2 separate regions of the Homo sapiens genome follow, and region 1 is linked to region 2. Evidence: promoter capture Hi-C in 16 types of primary human blood cells and fetal thymus (Javierre and others, 2016). All regions are on one chromosome and are shown on one strand. Each heading gives the region's core, a stretch centred on a gene start or on the middle of the fragment in contact. The rest is flanking DNA. Distances are from core to core; before and after follow the strand shown. Region 1 has its middle 42 kb from the start of CLRN3. Region 2 holds the start of EDRF1-AS1 (EDRF1 antisense RNA 1).

Region 1 (5,038 bases), core at 53-2,552, 2.1 Mb before region 2:
AGATGTCCCTTCACACGGGGCTCTGCCTTCCCCACTGCCCTCCTGCACAGGCACAGCACATGTGTGCACACTAAGACTTCCAGGAATCTGTCCATCTAGCTGAACTGATTTTTCCCCCCAATTTATTCGACATTAGGATCTTTCGTGCGAGCCCGCGTGTGTGTCTAAACTTAGCCACATCAGGAAGCTGACACTGGTAAGTGATGACTTAACATTGTGGGAGATGTCCTTCTACACACCTGTGGGTTCCATGGATTCAGCCAACTTCGGATTAAAAAACAGTTTTATGTTTCTTTGTTTTTTTTTGTTTTTTGTTTTTTTTGACGGGTTTTGTTCTGTCACCCAGGCTGGAGTGCAGTGGTGTGATCACGGCTTACTGCATCCTAGACCTCTGGGTCATGCAATCCTCCTGACTCAGCCTCCCGTGTAGCTGAGGTCACTGGTGCCCGACCCCACATCCAGCGTTTTTTTTTTTTTTTTGTAGAGATGGGGTCTTACTTTGTCTCCCAGGCTAGTCTCCAACTCCTAGGGTCTAGTGACCCAGCCTCCCAAAATGCTGGGATTATAGGCGTAAGCCACTGCACCCTGCCAGGATAAAAAATACTTTAAAAAACAATAAAAATCACAATACAACAATGAAAAATAATACCAATTCTAAAAAGACAGTATAACAACCATTTACTTGGCATTTGCATTGTATTAGATATATATAAGTAATCTAGAGATGATTTAAAGTACACAAGAGGATTGTGTAAGTTCTATGCAAATACGACACTATTTTATATCAGGGACTTGAGCATCTGCAGATTTTGTTACCATGGGGGTCTTGGAACCAATCCCCCTCGGATACCAAGGAATGACTGCATATATATATATATTTTAAGTTGGGATTCTTGTTCATTTTCAAACCATCTTTGCTAATATGGCAGTTGGCTTCCCTGGGCAGGAGGGAGCATGCCATGTGCAGACAGCATGCCCCTCCCCTACACAGGAAAGAGGGCCTGTGTGCACGGAACTGCATCCGTCTCTAAGGGGAGAGCGGGGCTCCTGGATCCTAGACACTCTGACACAGCATCCATCACACTTGTGGGCCGGTTTGCTTCTCCTGATCTCTAAGTCTCTCTCAGGCTCCCTCTTGTCCGGGGACACTGTGACAAAAGCAGCTGGAATGTTCAGGATTAACAAGACAGTCTTATTTAAGAAACAGATGCAGAGCACCCTGAAACCCCTGGCAGTGCCCGCGTTGCCATGGCTTTTCCACTCAGCGTGGAAGACCATGAGTCGTGCATCTCCCTGCTGGACCATGGCTTCTGGAGATGGAGGATGGCAGGGCCAGGTGTGATGTTGTCCTCCTGTCCAGCTCCTCCTGCATTGTAGGATGTCTGTCATAACCTGGTCTTAGAAGCCAAGAAGAAATGCAAACCTGTCCCAATAGGCCTCGCTTTGGCAACAGCCAGTGAACAGGTAGATTAACGTCACCACTCAGGCCATTTGGTCACCTGCTCACCAAGGTGCCACCACCACTGACACCAGGCTTATGAGGGTTTCCATCCCCATTTATGATGCTACCAGGAAGCTGATTTTAGCCACAGCCATTTAAAAAAACAAAACCTGTTGTGTCCTTGTAGATCCAAAGTGTTGGAAATCTTCCCTTTTTCCCCCAGCCTCGCCCACCTACCATTTCAATGTAACCTCCCAAATTCTTCCACAGAGCATTGTTGAAGGCTCTGAGAATCTTTCAACCTCCTCCACAAAGCCCTCCAGGGCCCCCGTCACAGCATTCCCTTGGCATTTTATTTGTGGCTCTTGGACACCGTTGTCCCCACCCTTCATGACAGGCCGGGGACTCCTGGCACTGGATCCTTTTTGCGTAAAGTAAGCTGATTGAATTAAGCACGCATCACTGAAATGCTTTGCTTTCCATGGAACCACACTGCCTCTGAATGAGAATCTGCTGCTCTTTAAATGCTCACCGACCCGCCGTCAACGAGCTGTTGTGAGGTTCTACCAGGAATCGGAGGCGTTATGCACAGACCTCCTTTCCAGCCTCTCCTCCCTGCCCCTTGTGGTCAATGCTGCTTTGGATGCTCCCATTTCCTGGGGGCCCGGAGATCCCGCTCACCTAGAGGGGATGGGCCCTGCTGGCTCTTCTCTGTGTCCTGCCTGGCCCTGCCATCCTCCTTCTAGCTGCAGAAGAGGGGAGTCTGGGGACTAGGGCCTGCCTCCTTCCCCTGGGGCACAGCTTCTGCCAGGCACAGCGCCATCCCCCAGGTCACACCAGTTCTTGGATGTCCCCATCAAAGCCTCTTGTTCCTCCTCTGGAAAAACTCTAAGTGGAAATTATAAAAAGTTCTCCAGAAGGTCTAGTCAGAAAAGTCTTGAAAAGACGAGCGGTCCCTAGAACTCCAGGCCAACCCCAATCTCTCTGACCTCCCTCCTCTTGTCCTCTTCCCTAAAACCACAGCCTCTCCCCTCTACTGGCACCTCTTGTCCCCATGAAGCATCCTCTGGGCCCCTCCTCAAGGCAAACACATCAAGGAGTTGCCTGGGGCACCTGCCTTCTTCTCTGCTGTTCCACCCCACTGGGTGGCACCCGATGTGCTCCTGCTTTCAGCTGCCCTTCCCGCAGACGCTGCTCCTGCACAAGGCTCCAGGGGCCTCCCAGTCACAGCCTCTCCCCAGGCAGTGCCAGCTCCACCTCACCTGACCTCTCGGGCCCAGACCCATCCCTCTGCCTTGGCCTCCTCTGGCCCGAGCCGCCCAGCACTTTGCCCAGGTGGCCTTCCTGGCACCCTGCCTCTCCCTCCTTCTCCACGGTTGGACCCGAGCTTCACTGCTAGTCGCAGCCCATGGGGTGCTGCCTGGGGTGGCCGCTCTGGAGGCCCTGGCTGTCCCTCTTGGTCTTTCACTATGGGCCCCCCACCCTGAGACAAGTGACCTCCCACCCAGGGGAGGCTGGTCCCTCCTCCTAGCCAAGTCCCACTGTTGTCTTGTGGCCAGAAAAGGAAAGGAAGTGGCCCCCAAGTCAGCAGTGGGGGTTTATGGACCACATTTGTAATTAACTTGAAAAACAACGCATGAGCTGAACGCCTGGTCTGGTGCTTGTCCTGGGTTTTGAATGTTCTCTTCACCTGTCTCAGAGAGTGACATTTATACAAACTTCTTTCTTCTGTGTCCTTATGAACAGTATCCAAAATGGGACCTTAGGTCTGCCTCATCTGAAGCATTCGCAGGCCAACGAAGCCATCTGCGCGCAGGCCCAGGTGTGTCTTGCAAGGCGGCAGCAGCCCTGCCTCTGGCTGTCAGCTTTGCCCTGGTGGGAGGGATTCATTTCTCTCTCCATCTAGTGAGTTCCCACTCAGTTCATCGCCTTTGAAAAACAAGCTCCCTGGCAGTGGGGCTTTTAGATTGAGATGTAAAAGTTAATTGTTTTATTGAACTTTAAAGAAAAGAACAACCACCACCAGCTAACAGGAAGCGCTTAGGAGTTGCTTGCTAATTTATTCTTATAACGAGTTTTGATTAGATATTGATTGTCACGGGCTCCAGGGGGAACCTCCATTCGGCCCCTCTGGAGGGTGGATGGAGTCAAGACTACATGCACTTCTCATTTTGTAATTAATTCATTTTTTAAAAGAAAGCAATCAGGAAGAATCTCATGAAGCTGGAAATCTCCCCAAACAAAATATTCCCAAAGGCTTTGCCAGGCTTTCTGGTACTGAGTGGGGCAGCTGCTGGTGCTCAGCGCAGGCATTAGGTTAATAGAGTCGTGCTTAATCCTTCTTACACTGGAAACTTGTTTGTATTCTGAGCAAAGGACTTCCTTCCCTAACCTCTAAGGGGAAGGATTCGCCTCGTTCCTTCCCACCTTCTTCCCCTTTGATGGGATTACCGCAGCTTGGGAAGGATTCATTTCACCTAGCCGGCTCTGACGGATGGCCTTTTTGCAGGGCCAATTCAGAAACATCCATGGCCGGAGGGAAAAGCTCACATTTCTTCTTGAACAATTATTCCTCACAGGTTCCATTTCAGTCCTTTTTCAATAGAGATTTTCCATACATTTCCAGCTCTCAGATTCTCTCAGTAAGATGATCGTTCTTTCAAACAGAACTCTAAGAAAGAAGGCAGATTCTTTTTTTTTTTTTTTTGGTGTCCTTCATTTTGTTAAATGTGCATTTTTGATCTATCTGAATTAACACAAGGGGGTTAATTCCGTACCAACTACCAGAAAGGAGCCAATATTGTGGCATGGCAGAAGCTTGTACTGTCAAGTTGCCCGTGGGAATGGGAATGGGAATGGGAAGAGTTGATGTATTTTTCACCATCTTCTGCATAGGGTGTAACCTGAAGGTCCCTGTGCTGGCCCTGGGAAGGGGCGCGAGGGCTTGTCCCTTCAGGGACTTTGCTCCCCCCTCGGTCTCCCCCAGGGCCTTCCTCCTTGCCTGCCAGGGACCCTCCTCATGCCCCTTGTCCGTGCCTCCCCAGCTGCTCTCTATCCCATGGCCCCCTTTTCAATGTATGCCAGGCACTTTATGTTTTGGTTTGTCCAGTCTCTGTCCGCACCCTCTTTCTCTAAAATCTAAGTGCCCTGAGGGCAGGCCCAGAGCTGAATATACCCCCAAACAGCCCCCGGCCCATTGGCAGCCACAAATGTCTGTTGAGCAAGCGAGTGGTGGGTGAGAGCAGATTGCTGGTGCGCTGGCTGTGGACCCTGGAGAGTTCTTTGGCATCTATAAGCCCCGGTCCATTCCCCAGGTAACAGGGGACTGCTTTTTTTATTTTTTATTTATTTATTATTATAATTTTTTTTTTTTGAGACTGAGTCTCTCTCTGTCGCCCAGGCTGGAGTGCGGTGGCGCGATCTCGGCTCCCTGCAAGCTCCGCCTCCCGGGTTCACGCCATTCTCCTGCCTCAGACTCCCGAGTAGCTGGGACTACAGGCGCCCGCCACCGCGCCCGGCTAATTTTTTGTATTTTTAGTAGAGACGGGGTTTCACCATGTTAGCCAGGATGGTCTCGATCTCCTGACCTCGTGATCC
Region 2 (5,027 bases), core at 270-2,769:
ACAAACAAACAAAAAGCACACCTATGATCATTTTGATAGACTAAAACACATAATTAAAATGTCTCAGCCCCAATAGGCACTTTTGTAGAAGAAATTAATCCTGACTTTCCAACATTAGACACAACGCAGAAATGTACGGTACCACACAGGATTTGACCAAGCAGGGCTAGAAGAGCAATAGGTGGGCGCAACATGGGGGCTTCAGGAAGCTTTTAGCAACAGCAGAAGGTAAAATGAATGCCGGAATGCCCAGAAAACGAGAAATTCCTTCCTGAGGAGCCTGCTTAGGCCCATTCACCATTCAACTGCTCCCAGGCATTCTAGTGGAAATTAGAAAAGAGGGCACAGGCCTTTTCTTTTAAAACATAAAACAAAACAAATTCCCACCAACAGCAACAAAAAAACTTAAGAGACTTTATAATTTGTTAACTATGGTCTTGTTGAGATATATTCTTAAAAATATTTTAAAATACTTGCAAATTAAAGAAAGGAGATGAATACCAGGCAAATATAACAAATCACTGTTAAAATGTTTTAGTGCATAGCATACATATGTACATGTGTGTATATATACCCACACACATACACACACACGTCCACTATATACATTCACCATGTAGCTTAAGACACACAAAAACCAAAGACAGTCATTTTCTCCATGTACCTGGCCAAATTCTTCTATAAGCTCCTTCTGGATAAGCTGGAATGCGTGCTCAGTTCTCACCATTATATCAAGAGCCCCAGATAGTGTTTTCAACTTTCCAACATTGCTATTCTGACCTAAAGTTTTAAATACAAAACGTTCATTTCTTTAATATAAATCTAGAAACCCATCTAATGTTAATGTATTAATGAAAATTCAGACTTTCAAAATGCTATAAAGGAAGCTAATGAGAATCTTAAATCTTCTAAATCCAACTTCTATTTAATAATATTCCCTTGACAAAAATACTAAGTCTGGACAAAGCAATAAATAATCATTGTTTCCCTGCCCCACCATTTGGTTTTGTCAAGACAGGCCACTTTTTCAGAACAGGAGCCTTAGGAAAAGGGACCAGCAGAAAAGAGTCTGGGGCTCGAGGCCCACCTCACATTTTACCAGTTGTGTGGTCAAGTCACATAAGCACTTAGTATCAGTTGTCCTATCTGTAAAATAGTTTATTACATCTCTGTTCAAAGGCAGGAAGTCAGACCAGATGAACAAGGTTTTGTTTTATTCTAGAGCCTTCTAACTACAATTTTTCTAGAGCTATCAGATACTACAGGACACCTTTGCTCCTGTTCTCCTAGAACTCAATTGTGTGCGGTGTGCAGTAGAGGATTAAATCTTGTACAGAGGTTTAGTCTTTGTCCTTGGCTCCCAGAAGGTAACCACTAAGTCCTTGAAATGTCCTGCCCGGTAAGAACGCCTTTGTTTACCTGGGGGTCCTTGGGTCACAATGGATAGCCTAACAATGGGATTTACTGTGGGGACTTTGGGCCCCAGGGTAACAGCTTGACCTCTGGAGGCACTGGAGACAAAGATCAGCCACGTGGCAGTCAACCATGTCTATCTGACCAAGTTCCAATGAAAACTCTGGACACCAAGGCTTGGGTGAGCTTCCGCAGTTGTACATGTATTGATTGATACACTTGGTGAGCACTGTCATGCATCACTGCCGGGGTGAGTTAGCACTATCTGTAACTCCAGCAGCAGAGGAACTGGGAGCTCCGCGCTTAGAACTCTCCAGGACTCTGCCTCCCGAGCCTCTTCCCTTGGCTGATTTTAATGTACATCCTTTCATTGTTAAGAAATTGTGGCTGTAAGCAGAACAGCTTTCAGTGAGTTCTGTGAGTCCTTTAGCAAATTCTCAAACCTGAGGGTGGTCTTGGAGACCGCCGACAGACTCGTAGTTAGTGTGAGAAGTGACAATGGTCTTGGGGACTCCCCGACTCTGCGGGTGGGGAGAGAATAACTGTTGCCTTCTTCCTTTAGAAGTATAATCCCACACTTTCTAAACAACCTATTCTCTTTAAAATCAATGGATCAATGTGATTTCAGCATAGATTTGGCATCTGGAAGACAAGCTATTGCTTATGTATGAAAGTGTTGTTGGGACAACGACCAGACAATATAGACATTAGGAAGGGAGGTCTGAATCATATGTACTAGAAAAAAAAAACAAAAAAAAAAACACTGGGTAAAATAAGATAGAATAAAAGGTGTCACAAACTAGAGCATTTATTAACTTGGCTTACAAAACCCACAAACCTGGCTAACAAAACCCTCTAAAATATTTACATTATTTTCTAAAGTACTCACAGTAGTAAAACATTTAAAGGAGAGAATTAAACACACTTATCATCTTAGCAAATTTGTTCCAGTATCTTCCAGCACTTTGGGAGGCCGAGGCAGGAGTATCGCTTGAGCTCAAGAGTTTGAGTCCAGCCTGGGCTTATAACATAGTGAGACCCTGTCTCTACAAACAATTTTTCCAAAATTAGCACTTGTGATCTCAGCTACTCGGGGAGGCTGAGGATCACTAGAGCCCAGATGGTCAAGGTTGCAGTGAGCCATGACCATGCCACTGCACTCCAGCCCATGTGACAGGGTAAAACTCTGTCTCAAACAAAACAAAACAAAACAAAAAACAAAACCCCAACAACAAAAAAGATGCTTGATCATTCTAAGGAATTCAAACATGGCAGAATATTCAAAGGTGCAAGTGAAAACTGAAGATCACTCTCCCCAAACCTTCCTCACATAAAGAGCTACTGTTAATTCTGGTGACTGTCCCACACATCTAGCCATGCGTTATATGCCAGCAAAAAATTAGTTTTAGTAAAAACCATTTTTAGAAACTGTTTTAGATAGGTAATACATTCCCAAATTTACAAGGTCCAAATGGGTATGCAGCAAAACCCCTCCTCTTGGCCTTCCAGGTTTCCTCCCCAAAGGGAACAATGTTACCAGTTTCTTATGCATCCTTCAGGGGCTACTGTATTATGTAAACTAAGTCATACAGATTTAAAGTATTAACCTTATTTTACAGCAGACTGAAAAACTAAATGAACTGCTGCACTTCAAATAATTGTTTCTTGTTTCTTTACCACACAGGAGATATTTCTCAAAAGACTCCTCTGCGGGAGAGGAGAATAGGTGAGCAAGAGAGAGAGGGGGAGAACTTAGGAAAAATCATTAAGTGGTTGAAGTATCTGCTTACTCCATGCCATGGAAAATAACATAAGAAAGCATTCTCACTTTCACCCTTCTCTATCTCCCGACTTATCTTGACCTCGGTCAGGCTCTACAGTAGTGTCTGTTCTGGAACCACAATCCAAGGGTCAGTTCTATGTTTAAGGGGTTCAATAAGGTCCACTACTCCTTTACTGTTGCCTCTCCATTCCCAAATTTTTCATGCCGATTTAAATCTTTTTTTTTGTTTGTTTTTGTTTTTTGAGACACAGTCTTGCTCTATCACCCAGGCTGGTGTGCAGTGGCACGATCTTGGCTCACTGCAACCTTCGCCTCCTGGGTTCAAGTGATTCTCCCACCTCAACCTCCTCAGTAGCTGGGACTACAGGCCTGCACCACCACACATGGCCAATTTTTGTATTTTTAGTAGAGACGGGGTTTCACTATGTTGGCCAGGTTGTTCTAGAACTCCTGACCTCAGGTGATCTGCCTGCCTCAGCCTCCCAAATTGCTGGGATTACAGGCGTGAGCCACTGTGCCTGGCCGATTGAATTCTTTAACTGTCTAAATTTATTTGTCAATTTTTTTTCCAAACTAGGGGTCATGGGCCATATCTCAGTATTTCTAGTCACTGAACATAATCTAATACATTCCTCTAAGTTTTAAAAAGCACTTCAAAACATGTAGTGATTTCTCACCCTCTCTACCCGAAGTCATTAACTATGGGGCAAATTAAAAAGAAAATAGTATTATTTAGATTCACAGGCCTGCCTTACTCTAAGACAATCCAGCACTAAGCCAATGCATACATATCTGAGAAATGAAAATTAAGACTTACTGGTCATCTGAAATTCAGCAAATGCTACTCTCTCTAGCTGTACTCTAAGCAGTTCGCAGGGAGCATCTTTCAGCAGCTGAAACAGCTTTGCGGCCTTGCTGTAATGAAGATCTGCCAGCACCCGGTGTTGTTTCCTAAGGTGTTCATCACCAACCTAGAACCAAACCAAAACAAGCAACAAATCCTTCACGGTAACTACTTCAGGCTTCACTAAGTGCTTCTTAGTTATTTTTCCCCCACTGTGGGTCTTACTAGGTCTTATTAGTTTTAGCTTTTATATTTAGGTCTTTAATCCATTTCCTTTCTTTTTTTTTTTTTGAGACAGGGTCTCGCTCTGTCGCCCAGGCTGGAGATGCAGTGGTGCAATCCTGGCTCACTGCAACCTCCGCCTCCTGAACTCAAGCAATTCCCCTGCCTCAGCCTCCCAAGTTGCTGGGATTACAGGCACCCGCCACTACTGCTTGGCTAATTTTTTAATTTTTTTCTGGGGTTTTGTCATGTTGGCTAGGCTGCTCTCTAACTCCCGACCTCAAATGATCCAACCACCTCGGCTCCCAAAGTGCTGGGATTACAGGCATGAACTGGAGAAGATTTCTTTCCACTTCGACTTAGGAAGTCCTCAACCAAAATTCAGGTTTGCCCAGATGGCCTAATATCCTGAGGGCAAAAGCAAGCTTAAGGGTGCCAAGACAATGCAGCAGAGGAGTAGTCTTTTCAGCAAATGGTGCTGGGACAACTAGATATCTATATGCAAAAGAGTGGGGAGGCCTGGGAGGCGGAGGTTGCAGTAAGCTGAGATCGTGCTACTGCACTCCAGTCTGGGCAACAGAGTGAGACCCTGTCTCAAAAAAAAAGAAAAAGAACTTCTCCAGTTTAAGCTGTATCTCAAAAGATACTTTTCAGAATAAAGGCAACCCAGAAGTAAACTCATGCCAAAGGGACTGTAAGGTAAGTAGTCTTACCTTACGGGGGGGGAAAATCAACAAAACAAACAAAAAAACATCACTGAGAAAC

Evidence for each region. The method cuts DNA at HindIII sites, captures the fragments that hold promoters and counts their contacts. A CHiCAGO score of 5 or more calls a contact.
Region 1: a fragment that was not itself captured here is called in contact with the fragment with the promoter of EDRF1-AS1 in region 2 in 1 of 17 cell types (neutrophils); the score reaches 6.6 in neutrophils.

What each region holds. Positions count from the first base shown.
Region 1 is chr10:127,848,885-127,853,922 of GRCh38, reverse strand. No RefSeq gene overlaps it. Among named protein-coding and RNA genes, the nearest start is that of CLRN3, 42 kb to the left of the region's middle. The HindIII fragment of the contact is 5,917 bases long and covers 1-4,260 here.
Region 2 is chr10:125,748,552-125,753,578 of GRCh38, reverse strand. It overlaps EDRF1-AS1 (EDRF1 antisense RNA 1), which reads left to right and starts at 1,519. Exons shown (of 5, transcript NR_120633.1): 1 at 1,519-1,594; 2 at 3,098-3,139; 3 at 4,051-4,204. It overlaps EDRF1 (erythroid differentiation regulatory factor 1), which reads right to left. Exons shown (of 25, transcript NM_001202438.2): 22 at 4,014-4,167; 23 at 665-780. The HindIII fragment of the contact is 4,478 bases long and covers 212-4,689 here.